Regions from separate parts of the Homo sapiens genome. Here region 1 is linked to region 2. The links are contacts of gene promoters, found by promoter capture Hi-C in human tissues and cell types (Jung and others, 2019). All regions are on one chromosome and are shown on one strand. The core of a region is centred on a gene start or on the middle of the fragment in contact, and the rest is flanking DNA. Distances in the headings are between cores, read along the strand shown.

Evidence for each region. The method cuts DNA at HindIII sites, captures the fragments that hold promoters and counts their contacts. A contact is called where the count stands out against the background at its distance.
Region 1: a contact is called between a fragment that was not itself captured here and the fragment with the promoter of GZMB in region 2, in 1 of the 25 tissues and cell types used here (thymus).

What each region holds. Positions count from the first base shown.
Region 1 is chr14:24,577,870-24,582,055 of GRCh38, forward strand. No RefSeq gene overlaps it. Among named protein-coding and RNA genes, the nearest start is that of CTSG, 3.7 kb to the left of the region's middle. The HindIII fragment of the contact is 5,672 bases long and covers 52-4,186 here.
Region 2 is chr14:24,632,435-24,636,475 of GRCh38, forward strand. GZMB (granzyme B) reads right to left here and starts at 1,756. Exons shown (of 5, transcript NM_004131.6): 1 at 1,672-1,756; 2 at 481-628; 3 at 1-25. The coding sequence starts at 1,726. GZMH-AS1 (GZMH and GMZB antisense RNA 1) reads left to right here and starts at 668. Exons shown (of 3, transcript XR_007064087.1): 1 at 668-914; 2 at 1,862-4,041. RefSeq lists an enhancer at 1,135-2,334. The HindIII fragment of the contact is 16,614 bases long and covers 1-4,041 here.

The DNA of each region.
Region 1 (4,186 bases), core at 1,638-4,137, 53 kb before region 2:
TATTGACGGGCAGTTAGATTGATTCCGTGTCTTTGCTTTTGTGAATAGTGCTGCCGTGAACATTTGCGTGCATGTGTCTTTATGGTAGAATGATTTATATTCCTCTGGGTAAATATCCAGTGATGGGATTGCTGGATCGAATGGTAGTTCTGCTTTTAGCTCTTTGAAGAATCACCATACTGCTTTCCACAATGGTTGAACTGCTCCCACCAACAGTGTATAAGTGTTCTCTTTTGTCTGCAACTTTGCCAGCATCTGTTATTTTTTGGCTGTTTAGTAATAGCCATTCTGATTGGTGTGAGATACAATTCCCAGTCTTTATGGAGTATAATAGGCCCTCTTGAAAATCTCATGAAAATTAGGGTTCCTTTCCTTATACATAAATATATAATTTTTTCACTTATTTTTAGAGCTGCACAGAGCTTAACCTCTTCTCTTGTACAGGCTCTATAAAACGTCTTTATGCATCTGAAAAGTAACGTGAAGAAGAAGGGAGCAAAGAGAGAATAGTATAGCACCTTTATTAGTGCCTTAGCATTTGGCATAATTTAATTTATTAAAAATTTTCAACATTTTGTTTTGTTTTAAAAATGTTAGTTTAACTTAAAAATAGAAGAAAGGGATAAAGAAAAACCTGCACATATGAAAAAAAAGGAGTAAAATATATGCATTCACTCATGTAATAAAGATTGATTAGGAAATTTCATTAATAGTGACCTAGAATTTCATGCAATCTTCTCATTAAAAGTAATCAAAGCTATTTAAGATATCTAAAAAGCTTACAAACCTCGAAGAACTACCAGCATTGAAGTGACTATCAGATCAAGTTGAAGGAATAATGAGAGTCTAGTTAGGAAGCTGCTATTGTTCCAAGGGAATGTGCTGAATCCACAAAATTTCAACTTTTGTTTTTGATGACCACATTAAGGAGAAATCTGTAGAAAATATTTAAAGTATGCTATATAGTTTCTTCTGAAGAACGGATGCTACCCTTCCCTTTATGGGACTAGCATAACCTCCATGCCAAACCCAATAGAGACAATATAGAAATGAAACATTATAGGTCAATAAACTTTTGAATATTGATGCAAACCAAATCAATCAATAAGCAAATAGATATTAATATATCATAAGTAATTTGGGTTTATTCTAGGAACACATAGTTGACTTTTCATTTGAAAAGCAAAATTGCTGTAACACATCATATGAACTGACTAAAGAAGAAACATCATGTGATTATTTAATTGAAACAATGAAGGCCTAAAATTTACCCTTATTTACTTAAAAAATACTCTTAGCAGACTAGGAATAAAAAGAGTGTCTTTAATCTGATAGAAGTTATCACAAAATTCCCACAGCAATCATTATACCTAATGGAAAAGTGTTAAAACCTTTTTTTGAGAGCAAAACATTACAATAATGCCTGAATACAAATTATTATCAGTTCTGTTCAACAAACAGTACATTAGCAGTTTTAGCCAGTGCAGTTAGGTAGGAAATGGAAATGAAAGGTATAAAGACAGGAAAAGAGAAAACAAAATTGTAATGATTTGAGGAAGTGATAGTATACGTAGACAATCCAAAATCATCTACAGGTAAATTACCATAATTAATAAGAGTTTTACAGATTTGCTAGAAAAAATCAATTTAAAAATTAATCATATTTCTACATGTACTGCAACACTGTTAGAAAGAAATTTTTAGAAAGTAATACTTAAATGGCATGGAAATGATCAAATAACTAAATGTAAATCTAAAAGAATATGTGAAAGACCTCTTTGGTGAAAATTATAAAACTGAATGAAGAGACATTCAAGAAGACCTAAACATGAAGAGATTCCATGTTCATAGATTGGAAGAAGACTAAATATTGTAAAAATGTCAGCTCTCCCAAAATTGATCTATATAGATTCATTGCACCGAGCGGTATTTTATAGAACTTAACTGATTGTAAGTATATTTGGAAAACAAAAGGCTAATGATAGCCAGGTCACCATTAGAGAATGAGAATAAGATGGAAGACTTGCTTTTGCAAACAAAGCCATGGGAATGAAGATAGCGTGGTATTGATGAGGCATAGAAACATGGACTAATGGACCAGAAATAAGGACTCCACACGCATGTGGACGCTGACATACACATGGATGGATTGATTTATGATGGATGTTGCATCTTTCATCATAATAGGGAAAAGACTATTTTCTTTTTTTATCCCCAATAAATGGTACTGGGATAATAAATTGCCTTTATGGTGTCCTATAGAGACAAATATTTTCTATGTGGAAAAATAAAACTTGACCTTCTTCTCCCAAAATATCAAAAAACCTATTCTAGGTAGATTATGGATCCAAGTAGGAATAATGATTTGAATATATAATGGAAGAATATCTTCATGATAGGTAAAGATTTTAGTACTGTATATAAAGTACTAATAATGAAGAAAAGGACTGATGAATTTGACACATCTAAATTGAGAGAAACAAAAGACCATTCATGGAGTAGGCAAAGATGCTTGAAATACACATAAACAACAAAGGGCTTATATTCAAATTACATAAAGAACTCAGAAATCTGGCCAGGTGCAGTGGCTCACCCATGTCCCAGCACTTTGGGAGACCGAGGCGGGTCGATCACTTGAGGTCAGGAGTTGGAGACCAGCCTGACCAACATGGTGAAAACCTGTCTCTACTAGGAACATACACAAAAAAATTAGCCAGGATGGTGGCACATACTTGTAACTTCAGCTACTCGGAAGGCTGAGGCAGGAGAATCGCTTGGGGAACTGGGGAGGCTGAGGTTGCTGTAAGTGGAGATTGCCTCACTGGGCAACAAAGTGAGACTCTCAAAACAAAACAAAACAAAAACTTGCAATGAAGAAGACAATTAACTTAATAAAACAATAGCCAAAAGACTTGAACAGTTTTATCTCAAAACAGGAAATCGAAGTGGTCAATAAACATGAAAAAGTGTTACTCTGACTAGATATTAGAGAAGCACCCATTTGAAGCACAATGAAGGCCACGTATGGTGGCTCATGCCTGTAATCCCAGCACTTTGGGAGGCCAAGGTGAGGGGATCACTTGAGCCCAAGAGTTCGAGACTGTGTGTGATGGCATGTGCCTGTAGTCCCAGCTACTTGGAAGGCTGAAGTGGGAGTTGAGGCTGCAGTGAGCCATGATTGTGCCATTGCATTCCAGCCTGGGTGACAAGACAAGACCCTGTCTCAAGGAAAGAAAAAAGAAAAAAGTGCAATAACAGTTGCAGCTACCATGTTGGCTCTTTTCCCAATCCTAGGTATATACCCTAGAGAAACATCGGGTGCAAATTTCTACCAGATACATGTCCAAGAAGGTCATAGCAGCATGTTCAAGATAGCCTCAAACTGGAAACACTTCGAAGGTCCACTAACAGCAGCATGAATAATCAAATTGTAGTATATTCATATAATGGAATATTGCATAGCCATAAAAATAAAACTCTTCCTTCATGCAGCTATGCAAATGAATCTTACAAGCATAAGTTAAAAGAACCCAAGAAGACAACTTTAATTTTATTTATATAAAGTTCAAAACTAGGCAAAATGAAACTATACTGGATAGAAATACATACATACATATACATATATATACATATATATGTATATATGTATATATGTATATATATACATGTACCATATATATATGTATATATATGGTAAATGTATAATGAAAAGCAAGGAAATAGTTATCACCAAAGTCAGAATAGTAGTTAACTCTGGAATTGGAGGACAGAGAGAGCATTTTGAGTAGGAAGAAACATATGGCAGATTTCAGTAGTGTTGAACAAACCCAATTTCCCGACATAAAATGTAGTGTTTAACTTATAATTATTCTTTAAACTCTCCATTTATGTTTTATCAACTTCTCTTGTGTGTATATTTTGTAATACATTTAAAAAAAAATCTGATTGCCAGAGGATGGGGATTAGAGAGAACATTCAGATGGAGAGGGGAATATATATGAGTAGAGTGGGGCACATACTTTTAATTTATTTTTTATTTTAATAAAAATTGTAATATTTGAACAAAAAGACCAATATGTTTCACAATATCTATAGCTGGTTACATCTGCTTTTGACTGTTTTATTACATTTCCGTCAGTTATAATTTTTTTCTCCTCTGGGATGTTGGGACATTAATGTAGGACGT
Region 2 (4,041 bases), core at 506-3,005:
GGCCCCCAAGGTGACATTTATGGAGCTGCACAGAGAGCAGAGTGAGGATGGGGGTGGAGTCACAGGGTATACAGCCCAGAGACAGTGAAGAGCAGGTGACAGCTGGGGCAGGGCTGCAGCTGAGGGGAAATTAAGGGGACAGTCGGTCCCCAGGAATTGGAATTCTGGTAATTGCACCAGGTTTCTCAGGGTTCGGTTCCCCCTAGAAACACAGGTGGAATTGCTTCAGTTTGTATTCTATGCCAAAGTATGCCCCCAGTTCTAAATATGGCAGGCTTGGTCACTCTGCTGTTTCTTACTTCAGCAGCACCTCTGGAACCAACCTTCCCCTCTCTCCACAAACTTAACTGCCCTTTTCTCACCCTCTAAGGAGACCTCCTGGCATGTGTGTTCACAGGAGCCCAGGGAGCTCCTTGGGAAGAAGGCAGGGGTCTCTGTGGAGTGTTTCCAGGAGGGTGTGGGCTGTTTTCTGCTCCTCACCTTCCCCAACAGTGAGCAGCTGTCAGCACGAAGTCGTCTCGTATCAGGAAGCCACCGCACCTCTTCAGAGACTTCTGATCCCAGATCATAAGATAAGCCATGTAGGGGCGGGAGTGGGGCTTGGCCTCATGTCCCCCGATGATCTCCCCTGAAGGAAAAGTCTGTCTGCTTGTGGGCACCCATGGAATCTGCTGGGTGGGCACCTGCTTAGTGGCTCCAGAACTCCTGGGCATTTGGGAGCCTGGGATAGCCTGGAGTTGGGAGTGGCCTGGAGGAAGGGGCTTCAATTTCCTGCTCTGAAAAAGGGAAGAACAGCAGACTTTGGTCTGTAAATCTTTCTTCCATATGTAGTTGAAGGCGAGCATACCTGTCTTAGGGACAGTGAAATCCCAGAGGCTCCTGATCATTCCTCTCCTGACTTTGCTTTGTTTCAGGTGAGTTTCCAAGACCCTTATGAGTCCTGTGGTGTCTAGGATAGTGCTGCTTTCTAATGGCCAGGGTGTAAGTGGAGGGATCTAGATACTGTCATATCCTGTTTCCTAGAGCCTGACATGTAGTGGGTGCCCAGTAAATGTTCATGGCTGCATGATGGACTGGCTCCAGTTAGCCTCTGGATGAGGGCTGGTAGAGCAGTGCTGGTGGAATTCTAGAAAGCAGGGAAGCTGGGGCCTGCCGTAGTGCCTCATCCTTGGAAAGAGGGGAGCCACCAAAGGCCAGGGAAGAAAAGCAGAGTTGGAGAATGGGACTGAGCAAACACATTAACAGTGTTCTGAGGACAGTGATTGTACCAATTCTGCTGTCAGCTGAGCTCTGGGTTTCTCTCCTAAGTAGACAGTGAGAGAAGCACCTGTCTTATCCCAGAAACAGAAGCCAGGCCTACTCTAGAATAATTTAATATTTCTCTTTTCTAGTTTCCCATCCTCTGCCATTTACTTCTAGGAAAGTCCTACTCTCCAGGTGACAAAGGTGGGCTCTGGGGAAGGGATAGTACCCACTGGCTCTTCTTGAGAATGGCCTGCTGCTCTGCCATTCCTGCTGATAGCTTATCCAGCATCACACTTGGGGGGTCTTGGTAGAATGGGAGCTGGAGTTCAGAACATTCCTGGTAGATAGATGGATCAGGAATGTGGAGAAAGGGCAGGAGACCTGTGGGATGGGGTTGGGCCCCCGAGGGTGGAGACGGTCACTCACCTGCATCTGCCCTGGGCAGCAGGAGGAAGGCCAGCAGAAGCAGGATTGGTTGCATCTTCTCAGGAAGGCTGCCCTGGTTGGAGCTGCTGTTGTTTCCTCCTTGCTCTCTTTTAGCTCTTGGGAGAGGAAAGAGGTGGAGCAGGCTCAGTGACTTCATGTTCCCCTCTGGTTTTGTGGTGTCTCATCACAGATTTTCTGTAAATGCTGCCCACCCCCACTGCCTCTGCCTGATGACGTCCTCTGGGTGCTTGTGTGAGAATCATGCAGTGACCACATCATCACCCACAGCTGATGACTCAGAGTGGACCACCTATTCAGCCCAGAGCAGGAACCCAAGCCTATGAAGTGAATTGTAGGATGTGGTATCAGCCAGTAGAGGTACTGGAGCACCAGAAACCTGAGTTCCCAGTGATAGAACCGCCAATGCCTCATGGCCATGCTGCTAAATCCATCAGGATAGTTTCTTTAGCAGGTATGTGTTTGAGCCCTTCTGTTGTGCTAGAACCAAGCATGTTGGAGATGTGTCTCCTTCACTTAGAGAGCTGACCATCTGGTTGAAGAGACGGAAATGCCAGGAGCCAGAGTACAGTTTGGGGAGGGCTATGGTAGCACAATACACAAGGCAGTAACAAAGCATGGCCACCATCTACTAGACCCATCTAGCAACCCATTTATTATCATAGCTTCCTTTCTAGAGAATTTCTAACATCCCTTATTTAGTTACAAATGTTTAGTGTGAGAGTCCACCTCTTTTCTGAATGCTTTCAATAAAAGTCCTGTACTTGACATTTTATTGGGCTAGATTAATGAATTGCTAGGAGTCAAATCCACTTTGGGTAGGCTGGGGTCAGTCTACTCAAGCCACTAGAACCAAGAATGAGAAAGGGCTGGTTCTCTAAAGGACGTTTGTGGTGCTAAATTGCTGATACCATATGAAGTGAGGAAGCATGCCAGGCAGCCAAAGATCAGTAGTTGTGTTGTTTAGTATTCTGTCTCCTGTCCAGAGAGCCACACTTCTTACATAGCAGGCTCAGCACATAACAGGCTCACAGTAAACATTTGCTAAACAAACTACACTAATGCTATCATTATAATGGATGTGAAAGATTGTTGTTTCTGAACAGCCCGTGCCCAATTCTGTTAAAAGACAACTAAGTCTCTCTACATGGTTCGATTCTTGTGATTTGTTTCCACCTTTATATTTTCTGTGAGGAAATTTTTCTATGAGGAATGGTATATCTCAAAATATAGAATTCCAGTGTAAACGTCTTCCTTGTCAATAGCAAGCCAACTACATTTATCAAACTTCTATTTTTTGAACCTAGCTTGCCCCATAGTAGACGTTTTAAAAATAATTTTTTCTGATTATAGTCATAATATATGTTTGTTAAGAAAATTTGGAAAGTAGGAAGGGAAAATATCACTTTTTAACCTGTCTCCCACAGACTGACTGTTACCATAAGCAGTGTGTTTTAAATACTTGGGATCACATTGTACATACAATGCAATTTATTTTATCCTTGATTAACCCTACAAATTAAGCATTTTCCCCATGCTCGTAGAAATCTTAGTCAATACAACTATAGTCTTTCTTTCCTAGGCATTAAAAAATTTAATATGCAAGTAATTTTTAAATAATTTTAGCAAAGCGAAAATAATAAACATTACCTAATTTCTCATCATTCACTGATAACCATCTTTAATGTCTTGAAATATGCTCTAGCACATTTTTTCTCATGTAATATCTGCATTTTTTAAAATTAAAAGGGGATTATGCTAAACATAAGTTTATGACCCATTTAAAAAATTGAGGTAAAATTCACATAACATACAATTAACCATTTTAAAGTATTCAATTCAGTGACATTTAGCACATTCAAAATCTGCAACCACCACCTCTGGATATTTCATATAAACGGAATCACACAATACATGACCTGTTGTGGCTGGCTACATTCACTTGTAATAATGTTTCTGAGATTCATACAAGCTGTAGCACATGCCAGTATTCGTTCTTTTTAATGGAAAAATAATATTCCCATTGTATGTTTATACCACAAGTTATTTGTTCATCTGTCAATGGACATTTGGGTTGTTTTCATCTTTTGGCTATTGTAGCTAATGCAGCAATAATAAGCATTTGTGTACAAATTTCTGCATGAACAATATGTTTTCAGTTCTTTTGGATATATACCAAATATATATACTTTTGGAATTTCTGAGTTATACAATAATCCTATTTTTAATTTTTTAAGGAACCACCAAACTGTTTTCCACAGTGGTTGTACCCTTTTGCATTGCTTATCAGCAACATAGGAAAGTTCCTATTTCTCTGCATCCTTGCTGACACTTGTTATTTTAAAATTATTA